Linked DNA regions of Homo sapiens: all the other regions are linked to region 2. The links are contacts of gene promoters, found by promoter capture Hi-C in human tissues and cell types (Jung and others, 2019). All regions are on one chromosome and are shown on one strand. The core of a region is centred on a gene start or on the middle of the fragment in contact, and the rest is flanking DNA. Distances in the headings are between cores, read along the strand shown. Region 1 overlaps STAT3 (signal transducer and activator of transcription 3). Region 2 holds the start of TUBG2 (tubulin gamma 2). Region 3 overlaps IFI35 (interferon induced protein 35). Region 4 has its middle 17 kb from the start of AARSD1. Region 5 holds the start of AARSD1 (alanyl-tRNA synthetase domain containing 1). Region 6 overlaps STAT5A (signal transducer and activator of transcription 5A).

Region 1 (2,850 bases), core at 351-2,850, 320 kb after region 2:
CTGTGGGCTTGGATAGGGACCATGGGAAAGGAAGAGAATGGTTGCCCATAAAACTGGCTGTAGTGTGGCCTCAAACTTCTGGACTTAAATGATCCTCCCACCTCAGCCTCCCAAGTAGCTAGAACTACAGGTATATGCCACCATGCCCAGCTAGTTAAAAAAAAATTTTTTTTTTTTTTTGGTTGAGATGAGGTCTCTTTCTATGTTCCCTGGGCCGGTCTCAAACTCCCAGCCTCAAGTGATCCTCCTGCCTTGGTTTCCCAAAGTGCTAGGATTATAGGTGGGAGCTACCATGCCTAGCCCAAGCCTGTAATTTTTTTTTTTTTTTTTTGAGATGGAGTTTCACTTTTGTTGCTCAGGCTGGAGTGCATGGCGCAGTCTTGGCTCACCACAACCTCCACCTCCCGGGTTCAGGCGATTCTCCTTCCTCAGCCTCCCGAGTAGCTGGGATTACAGGCATGCACCACCAAGCTCAGCTAACTTTGTATTTTTAGTAGAGATGGGTTTCTCCGTGTCGGTCAGGCTGGTCTCAAACTCCTGACCTCAGGTAATCTGCCCACCTTGGCCTCCCAAAGTGCTGGGATTACAGGCATCAGCCACCGCACCTGGCACGAACCTGTAATTTTTAAGTTTCATATGCTATTTATTTTTTGTTATTTCTTTAATTCATTCATTCATTTATTCATTCGAGATGGGGCCTCACTATGTTGACTAGGCTAGTTTTGAACTCCTGGCCTCAAGCAGTCCTCCCACTTCAGCCTTCCCAAGTGCTGATATTATAGGTGTGAGCTGCTACATCCAGCCTTCTTTCTTCTTTTTCTTTTTCCATGTGCTATTTGACATTTTCCAAGGTACCAGCCTCCCCTTCTCCCCAAGATAATATCTTTTAATATGGAATTTCATCCCTAGGGCAGGACTTTTTTTTTATTATCCCTCAGAAATATACTGGACACCACGTTTAAGTAGACATCCAACATCTGCTGTCATAAATTGTTTTGAATTTTTTGACATACTTGCCCATGAGGTTTTTGAAGGCATAGACCATGTCTTAGCTGAACATGTGGTCTCTTAGTGCCATAAAGGGGGTTTATGGTATGACCTGTGTAGTGTCACCTGTGTAGTGACAGCACCACTGCCTCTGTTTCCCTTCCTCTTGTGATGGCAGCAGCGTCTCAAGCCAAACAAGAAGGGTAGTTAGGGTGGGATGGAAGCTGGGTAGAGGTATTCCTCTCCCCATAGTTCTGTGTTCACATGTGCATTGACCTCCTTTTTGGCAGCAAGGGGGCCAGGCCAACCACCCCACAGCAGCCGTGGTGACGGAGAAGCAGCAGATGCTGGAGCAGCACCTTCAGGATGTCCGGAAGAGAGTGCAGGTGATGCAAGTTACAAGCCTCGGGCAGGGAGCTTTCATTAATTTTTTTTTTTTTTTTTGAGACAGGGTCTTGCTCTGCCACTCAGGCTGGGCTGCAGTGGCATGATCACAGCTCACTGCAGCCTCGACCTCTCAGGCCCAAGCGATCCTCCTACCTCATCCTCCCAAGTAGCCGGGACCACAGGCATGCACCACCACGCCCAGCTAATTAAAAAAAAAAAATTTGTAGAGATGGGGGTCTCCCTGTGTTGTCCAGGCTGATCATGAACTCCTGGGCTCAAGTGATCCTCCCAACTCAGCCTCTCAAAGTGCTGGCATTACAGGCGTGAGCCACTGCACCTGGCCAACAGGGAGCCTTCTCTTGGGGATACTGCCTGCAGGTCCTGCATGTATCTTTTTTGAGGTTTTGGCTTCATTTGAATTCTCCTCAGAAACTTTATATTTTCTGTTCCCAAGGAAATCTTTCTTTACTTCTGTTTTTTTGTTTGCTTATTTTAAACAGGATCTAGAACAGAAAATGAAAGTGGTAGAGAATCTCCAGGATGACTTTGATTTCAACTATAAAACCCTCAAGAGTCAAGGAGGCAAGTGAATATTAGAGATGTTAAAATCTCTAGAAAGTGAGTTTGTGTTGTTGAGTTGAAAGACTCATTTGTCTTAACTCTGTTTAGATCTTAAGGCGGGCGGGGCGCAAGGGAGGTACGGGTCCTCAAAGGAGCCTGGTCATTAAGGACAGGAGTATTCCCTCAGGTCCAGGAGTATTCCCTCAGGTCCAGGAGTATTCCCTCAGGTCAAGGAGTATTCCCTCAGGTCAAGGAGTATTCCCTCAGGTCCAGGAGTATTCCCTCAGGTCCAGGAGTATTCCCTCAGGTCCAGGAGTATTCCCTCAGGTCCAGGAGTATTCCCTCAGGTCCAGGAGTATTCCCTCAGGTCAAGGAGTATTCCCTCAGGTCCAGGAGTATTCCCTCAGGTCCAGGAGTATTCCCTCAGGTCCAGGAGTATTCCCTCAGGTCCAGGAGTATTCCCTCAGGTCCAGGAGTATTCCCTCAGGTCAAGGAGTATTCCCTCAGGTCCAGGAGTATTCCCTCAGGTCCAGGAGTATTCCCTCAGGTCCAGGAGTATTCCCTCAGGTCAAGGAGTATTCCCTCAGGTCCAGGAGTATTCCCTCAGGTCCAGGAGTATTCCCTCAGGTCCAGGAGTATTCCCTCAGGTCCAGGAGTATTCCCTCAGGTCCAGGAGTATTCCCTCAGGTCCAGGAGTATTCCCTCAGGTCCAGGAGTATTCCCTCAGGTCCAGGAGTATTCCCTCAGGTCAAGGAGTATTCCCTCAGGTCCAGGAGTATTCCCTCAGGTCCAGGAGTATTCCCTCAGGTCCAGGAGTATTCCCTCAGGTCAAGGAGTATTCCCTCAGGTCAAGGAGTATTCCCTCAGGTCAAGGAGTTTTTTCTTCCTTCGCAGACATGCAAGATCTGAATGGAA
Region 2 (2,895 bases), core at 218-2,717:
TTCGGCCTCCCTGCCCATTCCTTCCCCCACTCCATAACTTCACCTCCAAACTGTCACTTCCATCTGCTTCTCGGTCTATGATGTCAAAGATGTCTTCATGAATTTTCTCACCCTGTATAGAGATATGGAAAGGGAGGGTCAGGCCAAAGGTTCCAGAGAGCATCTTTTCTCAGCACAGCACCAAGAATTCTGTCTACCCTGGAATATTGTTGCCACCCTGAAGCAGAGCCTAGGCTGTAGCCCTCAACCCAGAAGTGCTACTATTGCAAATGATTTGCACAAAATTTGCATAAACCTCTCCCTGGCTGTCCCTCTTGTTCGGGACATCCTTTTGTCTCTTATTTTCTGTCAGTCAGGTCAAATTCCTAGTAGCTTGAGCCTGCCTTGCCTCTGGATGGGAATATCAAAGGTCTCTGGAATGGTCGCTAGGACACCTGGGAGAATCCGCTGGCCCAGTTGTTGCCAGCTCCTCCTCCATGTTCCGACAGGTAGATGTTCTCTGGGTTGTAGAGCTTGGCATAGGGGGAGTTGAGGATGGAGTGGATCACCCGGGGTTCCAAGTCCAGCAGCACGGCCCGGGGGATGTAGTGCTCATCGTCTGCCTGTCAAGGGGAGTCCAGGAGGGGGCCCAATCAGCTAGGGCGGCCCAAGTCCGAAGTCCTCCCAACTCTGGCTCCCTCCGGCCCTCCCTCCTCAAGCCAGCCGCCTGGCCCTACTGCCCAGCGGGGTTCCCAGTACCAGGCCACTCCCTTCCCTTCCGCCCCCTTGGGCCACTGCCGCCCCCGGCCAAGTCGCTGGGGGCACCTGGTAGAAAAAGACGTCCTTGCGGTCAGTGCCCTCGGTGGCGAATTCCTCCACGATGCCCTCGGGGCTGATACCATGCTCGGCGCACAGCTGTTTCCAGAACTCGAACCCAACTGGGGGAGGGGGGAGATGCCCGGGTCTGCTGGAGCCTTAAGGCCTGAGGAGCCCAGTTTTAGTCTCAGAGGCTGACACGATCAGAGGGTGGACCCAAGATGCCTGGGTTTGGTAGCTGCCCCAGCCCCGGGCTGGAGGCGCAGCTCTCGGTCTGGGTTATCCAGAGCAGCAGGGCAGGGGGTTCATGGAAGGGAAAGGGGGACTGGTGGAAGCCAGGCACTTGGGTGGGACCCGAAGGGGCAGAACCAGAGACCGGCGGGGCCGGCGCTCGCTTGCTCACTCTGGTTGCCGCACTGGCCCAGCTGCAGGGTGATGATCTCCCGGGGCATCGCTCTTCAGACGTGGGCGCGCCAGCCCCGGCCTGGCGAGAGTCACGGCTGAGACGAATGCCCGGCAGCCAGGAGCGCAGGACGTGGGGAGCGCGCGCTCTCTTCGCCTCTTGACGCGGATGCTCGGTCTGCGCGTGTGCAGCGCAGGCCTCTCCTCGGCCGGTGGGCCGGGGAGCCCAACCTGGGCATCATTTTCTCCCTCAGCAGTCGCAGCTGGAATTCCGCACAGGCGCAGAGTCAGGCCACGCCCGCTCCTGCCCACCGCTCCGCGCCTGCGCAGTGAGACTCGTTGGGGGTGGCAGGGTCGGAACCTGGATGTGTTGGGGAGGAGAGGAACGGGGGAGGGGAGGAAAGGGGAGAAGCGGCCAGGTGGATGTGCTTGTCCACGTGTAAGGAGTCATCTACCTATATTGGTAGGTGAGGACACTGTCAGCTTTGCTAGATCAAAGGGCTAGAAGCCAACTTTTCTTCGTTTAAATTTCTGTTTTTTAATGGTGTTACAATACATACACATGTATGTTACCTTTTTATTTTTTAGAAGGGTCTCGCTCTGTCGCCCAGGCTGGAGTGCAGTGGCGCGATCATAGCTCACTGTAGCCTTGAACTTCTGGCTTAAGTGATCCTCCCACTTCAGTCTCCCGAGTAGCTGGGACTACAGGCGTGTGCTACCACGCCCAGCTAATTTTTAAATTTTTAAAATGTATTTTTATAGAGATGGGGATCTCACCGTGTTGCCCAAGATGGTCTTAAACTACTGGCCTCAATCAATCCTCCTGCCTTGGCCTCCCAAAATGCTGGGATTACAGGCATGAGCCACCACTCCTGGCCTAAATTTACCATTGTAACCATTTGTAAGTACTGCATACAGTTCTGTGGCACCAAGTACACTCACATTGTTCTGTAACCACCACCACCATTCTTTTCTAGAACTTTCTTATCTTCCCAAACTGAAACTCTATCGCGATTAAACAGTAACTTCCCCTTGACTACTCTAGGCACCTGATATGAGTGGAATTATACAGTATTTGTCTTTTTGGGTCTGGCTTCTTTCACTTAACATAATATCTTCAAGATCCTTCCATTTCGTAGCATGTGTCAGAATTTCCTTCCTTTTTACAACTGAATAATATTCCATTGTATAGATGTACCACATTTTGCATAACCATTCATCCCTCCATGGACATTTGGGTTGCTTCCACCTTTTGGCTATTGTGAATGTTGCTGCTTTGAATGTGAGTGTACAAATATCTGTTCGAGTCCCTGCTTTCAATTATTTTGGATATACACCCAGAGGTAGAATTGCTGGATCATATGGTAATTGTGTTTAATGTTCTGAGGAATCGCCATACGATTTTCCATGGTAGCTGCACCATTTTAAATTCCCACCAGCAATGCACAAGGGTTCAGTTAAATAAATTTTATAGGAGGCCATTGATTTGCACTGAGCTCCTGTGCTTGGCTCAACAGACCAAACCAAAATGGAGTCACTCACGCTAAAGTTCTATGTCACTAAGCAACACTAAGTTGTTTATCAAACCTTCAGAGGAATCAGGAGAGGGAAGGAAGAGCCAAAACCCCAAACAAGCCAGTGTGAGCCGGCATGATACGGAAGTCCTTTTACAAGAAAAGTAACTTTGAAAGGACCCAT
Region 3 (2,997 bases), core at 49-2,548, 360 kb before region 2:
GCATCTTTCCTTCCTCCCCAGGTGGCTGATGCCATGAAACAGATGCAGGAGAAGAAGAATGTGGGCAAGGTCCTCCTGGTTCCAGGGCCAGAGAAGGAGAACTAGGGCAAGTGGCTGTGAGACCCTAGAGACCAGCGAAGGGAGAAGTTGGGAAGCTACGTTCTGTTGGCCACCAGACTTGCATTTCAGCCTCTGTCATAATGCTCTGCCCTCCCTCCCCCGAAGGTCTCTGTGGTGATGACCGCTCTCCCCTGCCCCTCCCCGCTTCCTGACCTCTGAAGAGGTTGGGAAGTGACCATTTGGATGTCTGGGCCCTGCCAAGGCGACAGGGAGGGTCAGAGGGAGGCCGGCTGCTTCCTGCCCCCACCCTTTCCCCGGGCCTGCTGTGCTGCTTTTGTGCCAAGGTTAGCCAGTCCCCCCTGTTGTGTTCCATGTGCTTTCACCTCTGCCTCATCTTTCCTCCCGTCCCTGCCCCGCCACCTCCCCAAAGAATTGAAACGTCAGCTCAGGATATGGGGCCAATCTCTGTGAGTCCAGCATGTACCTGTCTCTCCCTAGTGTCCCTTCAGCCTGGGCTGACCAGTGCCCGCCTCTGGGCTTGACCAGTTCCCAATCTCGTCCTCTGTCCCCAACTTCTTAAGCACAATTGGGCTTCTTCCATCTCCAGGTTTTCTGCCATTCTTAACCAAGGCTGCCTCTTCCAACAGGGCGGGAATCAGACCTACTCCCCTAGGTCACAACTCTGGGAAGGATACAGAGCCCCCACCCTTCACTGAGTTCTCTGGATTTGTTCTCAGTGCCTTAGCAACGAAAACCTGTGCTTGTGTGTGTGTGGCGGCGGGGAGGGAGGATCCTGTTTCCCACCTCCTTCTCCTCCCCTGTACTCCCCAGTGCCTTCCTTGTTCTGGTGGAGCTGGGGTTTCTCTCCTCCCCAGTCCCACAACACTGCCAAAAATCTGTGTATGTGCCATTGGGTGGGGCAGCCCCAAGCCTCCTGGGGAGGCAGGGCAAAAACAGGTGCCCTCATCGTGGTCTGTGCCATGTCCCGTCTCTATGGTGGTTGAGGAGAAAGGCGGGGAAGCTTCCTCAGCCTTGCAGATATGTGTGGCATTTACTAGCCAGAGCTCTGAAAGGCAGTGCTGTCTGTTTCTTGTACTGGGACCAAAGTAAAAATCCAAGCACATTCCCCTTGCAGTTAGGGGAGGCCCTACTGCCTTCTCAAAGCAGAGAGGCAGCTTATCAAACTCAGCCCAAAACTCTGTTTACATGGGTGGGGAGATGGAGCAGGGAAGTACAGAGTGGGATGGTCAGGACCTGGGCCATTGCAACCAAAATGGGGACTTCCTGGGTAGGGAGGTCACTCCCTCTACTCACTGAGCTAGGATTAGGGAGGGTTATTGCCCCAACCATTGCAATGGGAGGTGGAGGGACAGGCTCAGCCTCCTCATTGTCTAAATGAGGCCTAAATGTGTGAAGTGCGATTTCTGCTTTTGTGTACCCCACCACCCCATTACCACAGCTGCCTTTGTGTGTTTGTGTCAATAAAAAGCCAAACCCTGGGTCCTGCTTGTTGCCTCTGAGAGTGGAGGGAAGGTGAGCTCCTGGAAGGCTAGTGCTGCCAGCAGAAGATCTGGGCTGCTTCCTGCCCCCTGCCTCTTTCCATGCCCAAATCACGTTTCCTTTCATGAGTGAAATGAGGAAGAACATCATGGCATGCAGGCTCTTTTTACTGTTCTGGGCAGTGTTTTGCAATGTGTGACCCCTCCGCACTGTTGGTGAACATACAGACCTCCTATATGGGCACCCAAGCCCAGGCCAGTGTGAGAACCTTGGCGGGGGGGTGGGGAGGATGAGAAGGGGAGGCCCCTAGCCTGACTCAGAGGTGAAGACTGCTAGGCCCTGCTGTCCTTGGGGTACGACTGTCAGGGCCTCTACCTCCCCGCCCCCGCGGGTGGGCTTCTGGAAGTGGATCTCCAGGACGTCATGCAGCTCCGGGCCATCCAAGATATCAGGAATGTTGAGCACCAGTACCGAGCGGGGAACTGGCTGCGACCTGATCTGGAAAAGGAGCCAGGAGATGGCAAAGGCTCATGGGAGAAGGGCTGGGGGCTGGGGGTAGGGCAGGCAGTGCCCCATGGGGGTATGAGGTCGGGAGGCCTGGAGAGGCTGATGGTGGGTAGGTAGGTCAGTGGGGTTTGGGGCCTCTGATCCTTCATTGGGCAAGTTCCTGGCAGGCAGACAGGTTACCCAGCCCAGCCCCTGTTCTTCACCCCTCCTGCTTACCTCAGCCTTCTGGATCTCCCCGTTCACATACGGAGAGACTCTCAGAGGGACTTGCTGCCCACCCAGTGGCACTGTGAACTGGCCGATTTGGCACAGACGCTGAGCCACTGTGGGGAGCAAGGAGGGGTGGGCCTTTAGCATCAAGCCCTCTCCTCTCCCTGCACCGTAATCTTGCACACCCTATACCCTCTCCCCTGCAGGAGGCCTGCATAGCCCTCACCTCCATCCCTAGCAAACCCCAGCATGACACTCCCTGGCAGTAGCTCCCGAACGTCCACATCGCCACCTCCGTTCCTAGTCTTGCCAAAGAAGATCTCTAGCTTGTCCAGCAGCTCCTCCTCACTCAGCCTGAGGCTGGCAGGAAATCCAGTGACCAACACCCTCCGGCCACTCAACTGGCTGGACATCTAGGGGGAGACAGCAAGGGGTGGTCCCAGACACAGCTCCACTTCCCCATGCCCAGGTGCATGGCATGCTTTGCATGCCCCAGGATTCTGTCATACCATCACCTGGATGGTGGTGACCATGGGCAGCTCCAAGGGCTGGACCTGCACCCGCAGCCGGCACTCCTCCATGTTGATCGTGTGCTCCTTTTGTTGCAGCACCTGCTCAGCCACTGGGTGGTGGGAAACAGGGTCAGTACTGGGAACCCTCCCCACCTCCCTCCTGAGGCTCCCCATGAGCTTACCTTTGGGGTCATCAAAGGTGATCAGA
Region 4 (3,135 bases), core at 280-2,779, 290 kb before region 2:
AGGCTTTGAAGTTTCACAGACCTGGGTAGAAATACTGGATTTGCACATCCAGGAAAGGTGATAAAACAAAGATCCAGTCACAGCTTTAGCTAGAACAAAGATGGTTAAGGCCTAGACAGCCAGGATGAAATAACAGAGGAGAAATACAAAAGCTGACATCCAGGGGAGATAACCTGTGGCTGTGGCTGTGGCTGTGTTCAGCTATTTGTTCTTCCGACTCTGAAAGGAACTTTTTTTTTTTTTGGAGATAAGAGTCTTGTTCTGCCACCTAGGCCGGAGTGCAGTGGCATGATTTTGGCTCACTGCAACCTCCGCTTCCTGGGTTCAAGCAATTCTTGTGCCTCAGCCACCCAAGTAGCTGGGATTACAGGTGTGTGCTACCAAAAATTTCCTTCAACCCTGCCACTGAGTTACCCAATTTCTTTCTCCAGAATCAATCACTTAATTTTTTTGTTTTAGATGGAGTTTCGCTCTTGTTGCCCAGGCTGGAGTGCAATGGCGCAGTCTCCGCTCACTGCAACCTCCGCCTCCCGAGTTCAAGCAATTCTCCTGCCTCAGCCTACCGAGTAGCTGGGATTACAGGCATGTGCCACCATGCCCGGCTAATTTTGTATTTTTAGTAGAGATGGGGTTTCACCATGTTGGCCAGGCTGGTCTCGAGCTCCTGACCTCAGGTAATCCGCCGGCCTCGGCCTCCCAAAGTGCTGGGATTACAAGTATGAGCCACCATGCCTGGCCTTTTTTTTTTTTTTTTTTCCAGATATAGTCTCACTCTGTTGCCCAGGCTGGAATGCAGTGGCACAATCATGGCTTACTGCAGTCTCAACCTCCTGGGAACAGGTGATCCTCCCACCTCAGCCCTCTGAGTAGCTGGGACTAGAGGTGTGCACCACCACACCTGGCTAATTTTTTGTATTTTTTCTAGAGACAGTGCTTTGCCGTGTTGCCCACACTAGTCTTGAACTCCTGGGCTCTAGCAATTTGTCCACTTTGGCCTCCCAGTGTTGGGATTACAGGCGTGAGCCACCATGCCCAGCCTGTTACCAATTTCTTATATATCCCTCTGGTAGTATTTTAAAAAATAGATGTACATAAATCTTCCCTCTTTTTAAACATAAATGGTAGCACATTGTATACTCTTCTGCATCTTGCTTTTCTCAGAGTGCCATGTTTTAGATAAAACCATAGTGTAACACTCATGCTATACAAAATGGGTCCATTAGTGGGAGAAAGGGAAATGTTTGCTTCACAGAAGCTTCCTTACTTTTGTAGAAGGACTCAGGCAGGATCTTGAACAGAGACCCATGTGAATTTGTCTCTGTGTGAGATCTCTGTCCCTCTCTGTGTTTGTTTCTTTAGGGTGTGCCTTAGTCTGATCTGACTGCTATAATAACAAAAACTAGGTAGCTTATAAACAACAAAAATGTATTTCTCACAGTGGAGGCTGGGAAGCTGGCAAATTCAGTGTCTGGTGTGAAGGTTCAAATACTGGTTCAGGAATAGCCATCTTTTTGCACCCTTGGTGCAAAGGGTAAGGGGTCTTTCTTGGGCCTTTTTTTTTTTTTTTTTTTTTTGAGACAGATGGAGTTTCACTCTTGTTGCTCAGGCTGAAGTGCAATGGTGCAATCTCAGCTCACTGCAACCTCCACCCCCTAGGTTCAAGTGATTCTCCTGCCTCAGCCTCCCGAGTAGCTGGGATTACAGGCGCCTGCCATCCCACCCAGCTAATATTTTGTATTTTTAGTAGAGATGGGGTTTCACCATGTTGGCCAGGCTGGTCTCGAACTCCTGACCTCAGGTGATCCGCCTGCCTCAGCCTCCCAAAGTGCTGGGATTACAGGCATGAGCCTCCGCACCCAGCCCTCTCGGGCCTCTTTTATAATGCACTAATTTCATTCACGAAGGCTCTGCCCCCGTGACCTAATCACCTGCTAAAGGGCCCACCTCCTGATACCACTTAGGGGGTTAGGATTTCAACATATGAATTTTTAGGGGTACACAAAGATTCAGAACACAGGTGCAACAACAAGAACAGTGACCTGGGAGGCCACTCTTGCTCACTACCACTCAGGTGGGTTCTTGTCACTTAGACCTAGAGCAACCATGTAATTTTAATATCCAGAGTTAGGCAAACCTCATGCCAGAACAACAGTCAGAAACCCAGACGGTGTTAAGGTAGCCTGGATGTCTGGTCCCCCTGCTGAGACTCCCTGAGCTTCAGTTTCTTGACCTGAAAATGGACACATGAACTGGGTGTCCTAAGAAGGAAGGAACCTTATGAAATAATTAAGAAAAGCCATAAACACTTGAGCAAATTATGTGAAAATGGTAATTGGTTGTATAAAGAAAGAGAAAATAAAGCAGCAGTTTTTGAACTGGTGATGTCATTCTTGCCTGTCACTGAGGCCCTAATCCAATGCCCCAGGGAGAGGGGGAGAAGAACAGAGTGTGTTCAGGGGAAGGGGTGGATTGTCTTTTATGAGGTTCACCAGGAAACAAAATGAGTTCATTTATTGGAGTAATCAAGTTTTAGGTACACACACAGGTTATATATTCTGGAATGTTACTATAACCCACTTTACGGCACAGAAATAGTAAGGGGGACTCCTTGGCTTCTAAGGAAATTTTTTTATGTGCGTACCCATAAATTGCTGAAGACAGCTGCTGTAGCTTCCACTAAGGTGATGCATGTAGGTACTAGAACAGATGTTAGTATGAAAGATGAAAGGTATCAGGTGGAAGAGACCCAGAGCAGTAGACAGACTGAATTCAGGGCCGGCGCTGTGGCTCATGCCTGTAATCCCAACACTTTGGGAGGCTGAGGCAGGTGGATCACCTGAGGTCGGGAGTTTGAGATCAGCCTGACCAACATGGGAAAAACCCCGCCTCTACTAAAAATACAAAATTAGCCAAGTGTGGTGGCGCATGCCTGCAATCCCAGCTACTCTGGAGGCTGAGGTAGGAGAATTGCTTGAACCCGGGAGGCGGAGGTTGCAGTGAGCCAAGATCGCGCCGTTGCACTCCATCCAGCCTAGGCAACAAGAGCAAAGCTCCGTCTCAAAAACAACAACAACAACAACAACAACAACAAACACACACAGACTGAATTCAGGAAGGCATTGTGCCAGTGTCCTG
Region 5 (2,722 bases), core at 1-2,500, 310 kb before region 2:
GCCCAAACTATTTTAATGTAATGTAATGTAATTTTCTTGAGACGTAGTCTCGCTGGGTTACCCAGGCTGGAGTGCAGTGGTACGATTTCGGCTCACTGCAACCTCCTCCTCTCGGGTTAAAGTGATTCTCCTGCCTCAGCCTCCCGTGTAGCTGGGATTATATAGGCGTGTGCCACCACGCCTGGCTAATGTTTTTGTGTTTTTAGTAGAAACAGGGTTTCACCATGTTGGCCACGCTGGCCAAATTGTTCTTCTTTTTTTTTTTTTTTTTTTTTTTTGAGACGGAGTCTCGCTCTGTCGCCCAGGCTGGAGTGCAATGGTGCGATCTCGGCTCACTGCAAGCTCCGCCTCCCAGGTTCACGCCATTCTCCTGCCTCAGCCTCCGGAGTAGCTGGGACTACAGGCGTCCGCCACCACGCCCGGCTAATTTTTTGTATTTTTAGTAGAGACGGGATTTCACCGCGTTAGTCAGGATGGTCTCGATATCCTGACCTCGTGATCCGCCCGCCTCGGCCTCCCAAAGTGCTGGGATTACAGGCGTGAGTCACCGCGCTCGGCCTTTTTTTTTTTTTTTTTTTTTTTTTTTAATTGAGACGGAGTCTCGCTCTGTCGCCCAGGCTGGAGTGCAGTGGTGCAATCTCTGCTCACTGCAACCCCGCCTCCCGGGTTCCAGCGATTCTCCTGCCTCAGCCTCCCGGGTAGCTGGGATTACAGGCGCCCGCCACCACGCCCGGCTAATTTTTGTATTTTTAGTAGAGACGGAGTTTCGCTATGTTGGCCAGGCTGGTCTCGAACTCCTGGCCTGAGGTGATCCACCCGCCTCGACCTCCCAAAATGCTGGGATTACAGGCGTGAGCCACCTCCCCCAGCTCCTTGCTTTCTATTTCTACTGGGCAGTGCTGCTCAGTAACCATGCCAGTCCCGTCCCCGCCTCTATGCGCTGGGATTCCGCAGCCAGAATACTTACATCCCTGGGGCCCCAAGGGGCTCACTAAACCACGTGCCTTGTCCAGGTCGCGTTTTTTTGTTTTTGTTTGTTTGTTTTTTTCCTCCTGGTCTTGTCCTTTGTAAAGCCTTAGAACAGTCGTTAAACAACCCAGCAAATATGCAATTCGCGTTTTCAGTAAATTTATCCAAACCGCATTCCATTCCTTACCCTCCTGCTTCTGCGCAGACAAGCGCCCTTGATGACGTTTGTCCCACGTCGCTCTCCGTTCGCTCCCAGGCTTCTCTGCGCGTGCGCCTCCTCACACGCCTGCAGGTATGGCGTTCTGGTGTCAGCGTGACAGTTATGCCCGAGAGGTACGGCGTCACGGCGAGGCACTTGAGACTGCCGGGCCGGCAAGGCGGTTTGGGGAAGAGGGCGCCACGTGTAGGGAGTGCCAACATGGCATTCTGTCCTGGTGTGGAGAGGGCTAGGGCTAGGGCTGGGGTCGGGGCTTATTCTCTCATTCCTCTCTGTTCAGTTCACCACCACCGTGGTCTCCTGCTGTCCCGCGGAGCTGCAGACTGAAGGGAGCAACGGCAAGAAAGAAGTGCTGAGCGGTTTCCAAGTGGTGCTGGAAGACACAGTGCTTTTCCCTGAGGGCGGGGGACAGGTACCAAAACGATCTCTTCCCAGGAAGCCCCCAGTTTCTTTGTGCTCAGGCCGAAATGCTCTCCTGCCCCTTTTTTCTCAGCCATAATGAATTCAGATGAGCTTTAGTTTAATTCATTTTGTTATTCATTTAATGAGTATTTATCAGCAATTGCTTATCTAGACATAACATATGCTAGATATTATTCCAGGCTGTAAGGATAACCGGTGAACAACACAGTGCCTTTATATACGTGGAATGTTTATTGAAGACAACTGTGTGTGCTAGGTATAATAAGTAATAAACAAAAACCAAGTAAAGGGAAAGAGAGTGATGGGATGCTTGTCTAGATGAAGGGTAAGTTATTTCAGTAGAGACCTAAACGAAGTGAGGGGGTGAGTCTTTGCAATTATCTAGTGGTGCTGGGGGGCAGAGGGAGTATTCAGGCAGGTAGAATAGCAGGTGCAAAGGCCCCAAGGAAGGAATTAGCTTCGGGTTTTAGGGACTGAAAAAGATGTTCCTGAAGGAGTTCAGGTGAGATAGACGGGTTACAGTAGTACAGCAGAGAGCATATTTATCAGTGCTGTGATGAGGACTAGGTACAACATGAGCGCAAGTGAGGTACATTGTGAAGATGGAAGAGGAGGATAATAACACCAAAGGTGGGCATTATGAGAAAGGCTTTTCTTTCTTTTCTTTTCTTTCTTTCTTTCTTTTTTTTTTTGAGACAGAATCTCTCGCTGTCATCAGGCTGAAGTGCAGTGGCATGATCTCAGCTCTGCAACCTCCGCCTCCTGGGTTCAAGTGATTCTCCTGTCTCAGCCTCCCAAGTAGCCTGACCAACATGATGAAACCTTGTCTCTACTAAAAATATAAAAATTAACCAGGCATACTGGCAGGCCCCTGTAGTCCCAGCTACTCGGGAGGCTGAGGCATGAGAATCACTTGAACCGGGAGGCTGAAGTTGCAGTGAGCCAAGATTGTGCCACTGCACTTCAGCGTGGGGGACAGAACAAGACTCCGTCTCAAAAGAAAAAAAAAAGGTGTATTAAGGTGTGTGGGCAGCGAACCATGCAGGTTATTTTCTTTCTTTTTTATTTTTAAGAGACAGGATCTTGCTATGTCACCCAGGCTGGAGTGCAGTG
Region 6 (3,026 bases), core at 203-2,702, 350 kb after region 2:
CCCTCCTGCCCCCACCCAGTCTTCTCCCAGTTCTTCACCCCTGCTTGCCACCACACTCCAGCAGACCATAAAGTGACACAGCCCCCAACTTGTACCCTAGGAAAACAGAGAGGAAACTCACTTCTAAGACACAGGGGTCCAAGACCAGCCCAAGGGTGGGAGTAAGAGGTGTAAAGAATAATCTAGGCTGGATGGGGCCTCCAAAGTCATTCCTCCAAAGTCATCCCCTCATTTTACAGGTGGGGAAACTGAGGCACAGAGAATGGATGGGTCTTCAAAAATTAGCAAGGAGAGAGGCAGAAGGAGAGCCAGAGCCACAGGCGTGGTGGCTCACGCCTGTAATCCCAGCACTTTGGGAGGCCGAGGTGGGCGGATCACCTGAGGTCAGGAGTTCGAGACCAGCCTGACCAACATGGTGAAACCCCATCTCTACTAAAAATACAAAAATTAGCCCAGCATGGTGGCAGGCACCTATAATTCCAGCTACTCAGGAGGCTGAGGCACGAGAATCACTTGAACCCGGGAGGCAGAGGTTACAGTAAGCTGAAATCACGCCACTGCACTCCAGCCTGGGTGACAGAATGAGATTCTGTCTCTAAAAAAAAAAAAGAAAATTAGCAAACACATCTAGGCCCAGAACCCAAGGATCCTGACTCCCAGCCCTGGGCCCTCCGTCATCTCGCTCTTGGCTTCACAACTAAGCACAACTCCTATAGCCCCTGCCTGCATTTCTTGAGGCTAGGGGCCCCCATCTCTCCTGGTTGTAGGAGAGAGTGGTTGGGGGTGGAGAGTGGGGTGCTAGCCCCAGGCAGTAACCTGTCTGTGAGGTGGAGGAGCAACAGACCCCGGTGGGCCCTGGTGGGCGGCTGGCAGCTGGGCCCCTCACCCTGTTGAACTGGGACCAGGACACGGACAGGCCACTGTAGTCCTCCAGGTGGCTGCTGCTGTTGTTGAACAGTTTCTGCGCCAGGAACACGAGGTTCTCCTTGGTCAGGCCCCGGTTGCTCTGCACTTCGGCCTTGAATTTCATGTTGAGCGCCTCACACAGCTGCGGCCACAGCACTTTGTCAGGCACGGCAAATGGCACCCTGCCCTGAGAGGGAGACAAGAGAGGGGAAAAGGTAGATTGAGGGAGTTGGAAATATTCACACACACACAAGATACACAGACACCTAGAGACAGAGGAGACTGAGACAGATCCAGAAAGGTGACACAAATGCAAGGGCAGGAAATGCGGCGGCTTTTATATACTAGCTTGCACTTTTTTTCCCAGCCTGCAGGGAAGAAAACCGATGCAGGGGGTGGGGGCATGCAGGGACAGAGATGCAGACCAGGAAACAGAAAACAGAGAGCAAGGACCCAAGCCATCTGCCAAAGGAGGATCCCAGACCAGGATCCAAAGACCAAGCTCACAGTCCTCACAGACCCCAGTCCAGGAACCTGGAACCCAGAGTGCCAAGGCCATGGTGGAAGGCAGGCGCCCAGCACCCCAGCCCTTCTGGCCTCACCTCACCTCTGGGCTGGCCCTGGGGTGAGGAAGGACCACTCAGCAGGGGCCCAAGGGGTGGGGCTGACCCCAGGTGAGTCCTAGGGCCTGGGGGTGCTGGGGTAGGGCTCCCACGGGGACTCACCGGCTCAGCAAAGGCATTGTCCCACAGCACAGTAGCCGTGGCATTGTGGTCCTGGCTGCCGTGGACGATGACAACCACAGGTAGGGACAGAGTCTACAGGAGTCAAAGGAACCCAAGTTGATGGGGCGTGACCACCACGTGCCCTCTGCTTAGGCAACATGCCCAATCTGCTTTATTTTTTTTTATGTATTTTTTTTTTTGATATGGAGTTTCACTCTTGTTGCCCAGGCTGGAGTGCAATGGTGCAATCTCGGCTCACCACAACCTCTGCCTCCCGGGTTCAAGCGATTCTCCTGCCTCAGCTTCCCAAGTAGCTGGGATTACAGGCATGTGTCACCACACCTGGCTAATTTTGTATTTTTAGTAGAGACGGGGTTTCTCCATGTTGGTCAGGTTGATCTCGAACCCCTGACCTCAGGTGATCCACCCTCCTTGGCCTCCCAAAGTGCTGGGATTACAGGCAAGACCCACCACCCATGGCCGCAATCTGCTTTATTTTCTTCGAGACAGGGTCTCGCTCGGTCGCCCAGACTGGAGGGCAGTGGTGCAATCACAGCTCACTGCAGCCTTGACCTCCTGGGCTCAAGTGATCCTCCTGCCTCAGCCTCCAGAATAGCTGGGACTACAGGTGCAGGCCACCATGCCCAACTTTTTTCTTTTTTTTGTAGATACGGGTTCTCACTATGCTGCCCAGGCTAGTCTTGAACTCCTGGACTCAAGCAGTCCTCCCTCTTCTGCCTCCCAAAATGCTGGAATTACAGGTGAGAGCCACCACACCTGGTCCCAACCCACTTTCCTCACCCACAGTTCCAAACACAAGCCCCTCCCAGCAAAATGTAGGCACAAGCAAACAAACAAAAACTACAACCGACTTCTTCTTAGCCCATTGCCTAAATTGTCTGGGTTAGTCCCAGATTATAACCTATCAAACAGGGACCCACAGAGTCAAAGCAGGCTGTCCGATGGCATTGCTGCCAGGAGTCCTGAGGCAGGCCCCTCCACCTCTTGGGTGACCTGGAGCAGTGGGGGCAGGAGGGCTGGGGGTCTCACCTTCACCTGGAACACAAGCTCATTGCTGCCAACACTGAACTGAGACTCAAACAGGACTGTGAACTTCTCCTCTGTCACGGACTCTGCACCCCGCCGGTCAGCACGCTTGATCCTCTTCAGTGACTGCAGGGTGGGAGGTGACAGGGGAACAGGGAGATGGCGGCTGCTTACAAGGACTCAGCTCTGGGCAGACCTGCCCTCCGAGGGTGGGCCCCGTCCTCACCATGTTCCTGAAGTGGGCACTGAGGGTGCCCGTGGCTTGGTGGTACTCCATCACGCAGCAGTTGTTCAGGATCTCACCACTGCACTCGCTGCAAAGGAGAGGGGGGTCCCAGCTCCACATGG

Evidence for each region. The method cuts DNA at HindIII sites, captures the fragments that hold promoters and counts their contacts. A contact is called where the count stands out against the background at its distance.
Region 1: a contact is called between a fragment that was not itself captured here and the fragment with the promoter of TUBG2 in region 2, in 1 of the 25 tissues and cell types used here (liver).
Region 3: a contact is called between a fragment that was not itself captured here and the fragment with the promoter of TUBG2 in region 2, in 1 of the 25 tissues and cell types used here (aorta).
Region 4: a fragment that was not itself captured here is called in contact with the fragment with the promoter of TUBG2 in region 2 in 5 of the 25 tissues and cell types used here (dorsolateral prefrontal cortex, liver, lymphoblastoid cells and 2 more).
Region 5: a contact is called between the fragment with the promoter of AARSD1 here and the fragment with the promoter of TUBG2 in region 2, in 1 of the 25 tissues and cell types used here (adrenal gland).
Region 6: a contact is called between a fragment that was not itself captured here and the fragment with the promoter of TUBG2 in region 2, in 1 of the 25 tissues and cell types used here (aorta).

The regions. Positions count from the first base shown.
Region 1 is chr17:42,337,837-42,340,686 of GRCh38, reverse strand. It overlaps STAT3 (signal transducer and activator of transcription 3), which reads left to right. Exons shown (of 24, transcript NM_139276.3): 5 at 1,278-1,373; 6 at 1,875-1,956; 7 at 2,830-2,850. Among named protein-coding and RNA genes, the nearest start is that of STAT3, 49 kb to the left of the region's middle. RefSeq lists a silencer at 2,834-2,850. The HindIII fragment of the contact is 7,087 bases long and covers 1-2,850 here.
Region 2 is chr17:42,657,856-42,660,750 of GRCh38, reverse strand. It overlaps TUBG2 (tubulin gamma 2), which reads right to left and starts at 1,467. Exons shown (of 11, transcript NM_016437.3): 1 at 1,199-1,467; 2 at 805-917; 3 at 435-602; 4 at 44-112. The coding sequence starts at 1,247. RefSeq lists enhancers at 1,251-1,320, 1,371-1,440, 1,451-1,510, 868-1,635. The HindIII fragment of the contact is 23,957 bases long and covers 1-2,895 here.
Region 3 is chr17:43,013,169-43,016,165 of GRCh38, reverse strand. It overlaps IFI35 (interferon induced protein 35), which reads right to left. Exons shown (of 7, transcript NM_001330230.2): 3 at 2,972-2,997; 4 at 2,793-2,899; 5 at 2,504-2,690; 6 at 2,284-2,390; 7 at 1,710-2,058. The coding sequence ends at 1,867. It overlaps VAT1 (vesicle amine transport 1), which reads left to right. Exons shown (of 6, transcript NM_006373.4): 6 at 22-1,559. The coding sequence ends at 105. Among named protein-coding and RNA genes, the nearest start is that of VAT1, 7.7 kb to the left of the region's middle. The HindIII fragment of the contact is 4,481 bases long and covers 1-2,997 here.
Region 4 is chr17:42,946,302-42,949,436 of GRCh38, reverse strand. No RefSeq gene overlaps it. Among named protein-coding and RNA genes, the nearest start is that of AARSD1, 17 kb to the left of the region's middle. The HindIII fragment of the contact is 8,985 bases long and covers 1-3,135 here.
Region 5 is chr17:42,962,982-42,965,703 of GRCh38, reverse strand. AARSD1 (alanyl-tRNA synthetase domain containing 1) reads left to right here and starts at 1,250. Exons shown (of 12, transcript NM_001261434.2): 1 at 1,250-1,302; 2 at 1,467-1,598. The coding sequence starts at 1,264. It overlaps PTGES3L-AARSD1 (PTGES3L-AARSD1 readthrough), which reads left to right. Exons shown (of 17, transcript NM_001136042.2): 7 at 1,467-1,598. The HindIII fragment of the contact is 19,831 bases long and covers 1-2,722 here.
Region 6 is chr17:42,304,308-42,307,333 of GRCh38, reverse strand. STAT5A (signal transducer and activator of transcription 5A) reads right to left here. Exons shown (of 19, transcript NM_001288718.2): 10 at 2,905-2,992; 11 at 2,682-2,804; 12 at 1,632-1,724; 13 at 887-1,093. Among named protein-coding and RNA genes, the nearest start is that of STAT5A, 17 kb to the right of the region's middle. The HindIII fragment of the contact is 6,096 bases long and covers 1-3,026 here.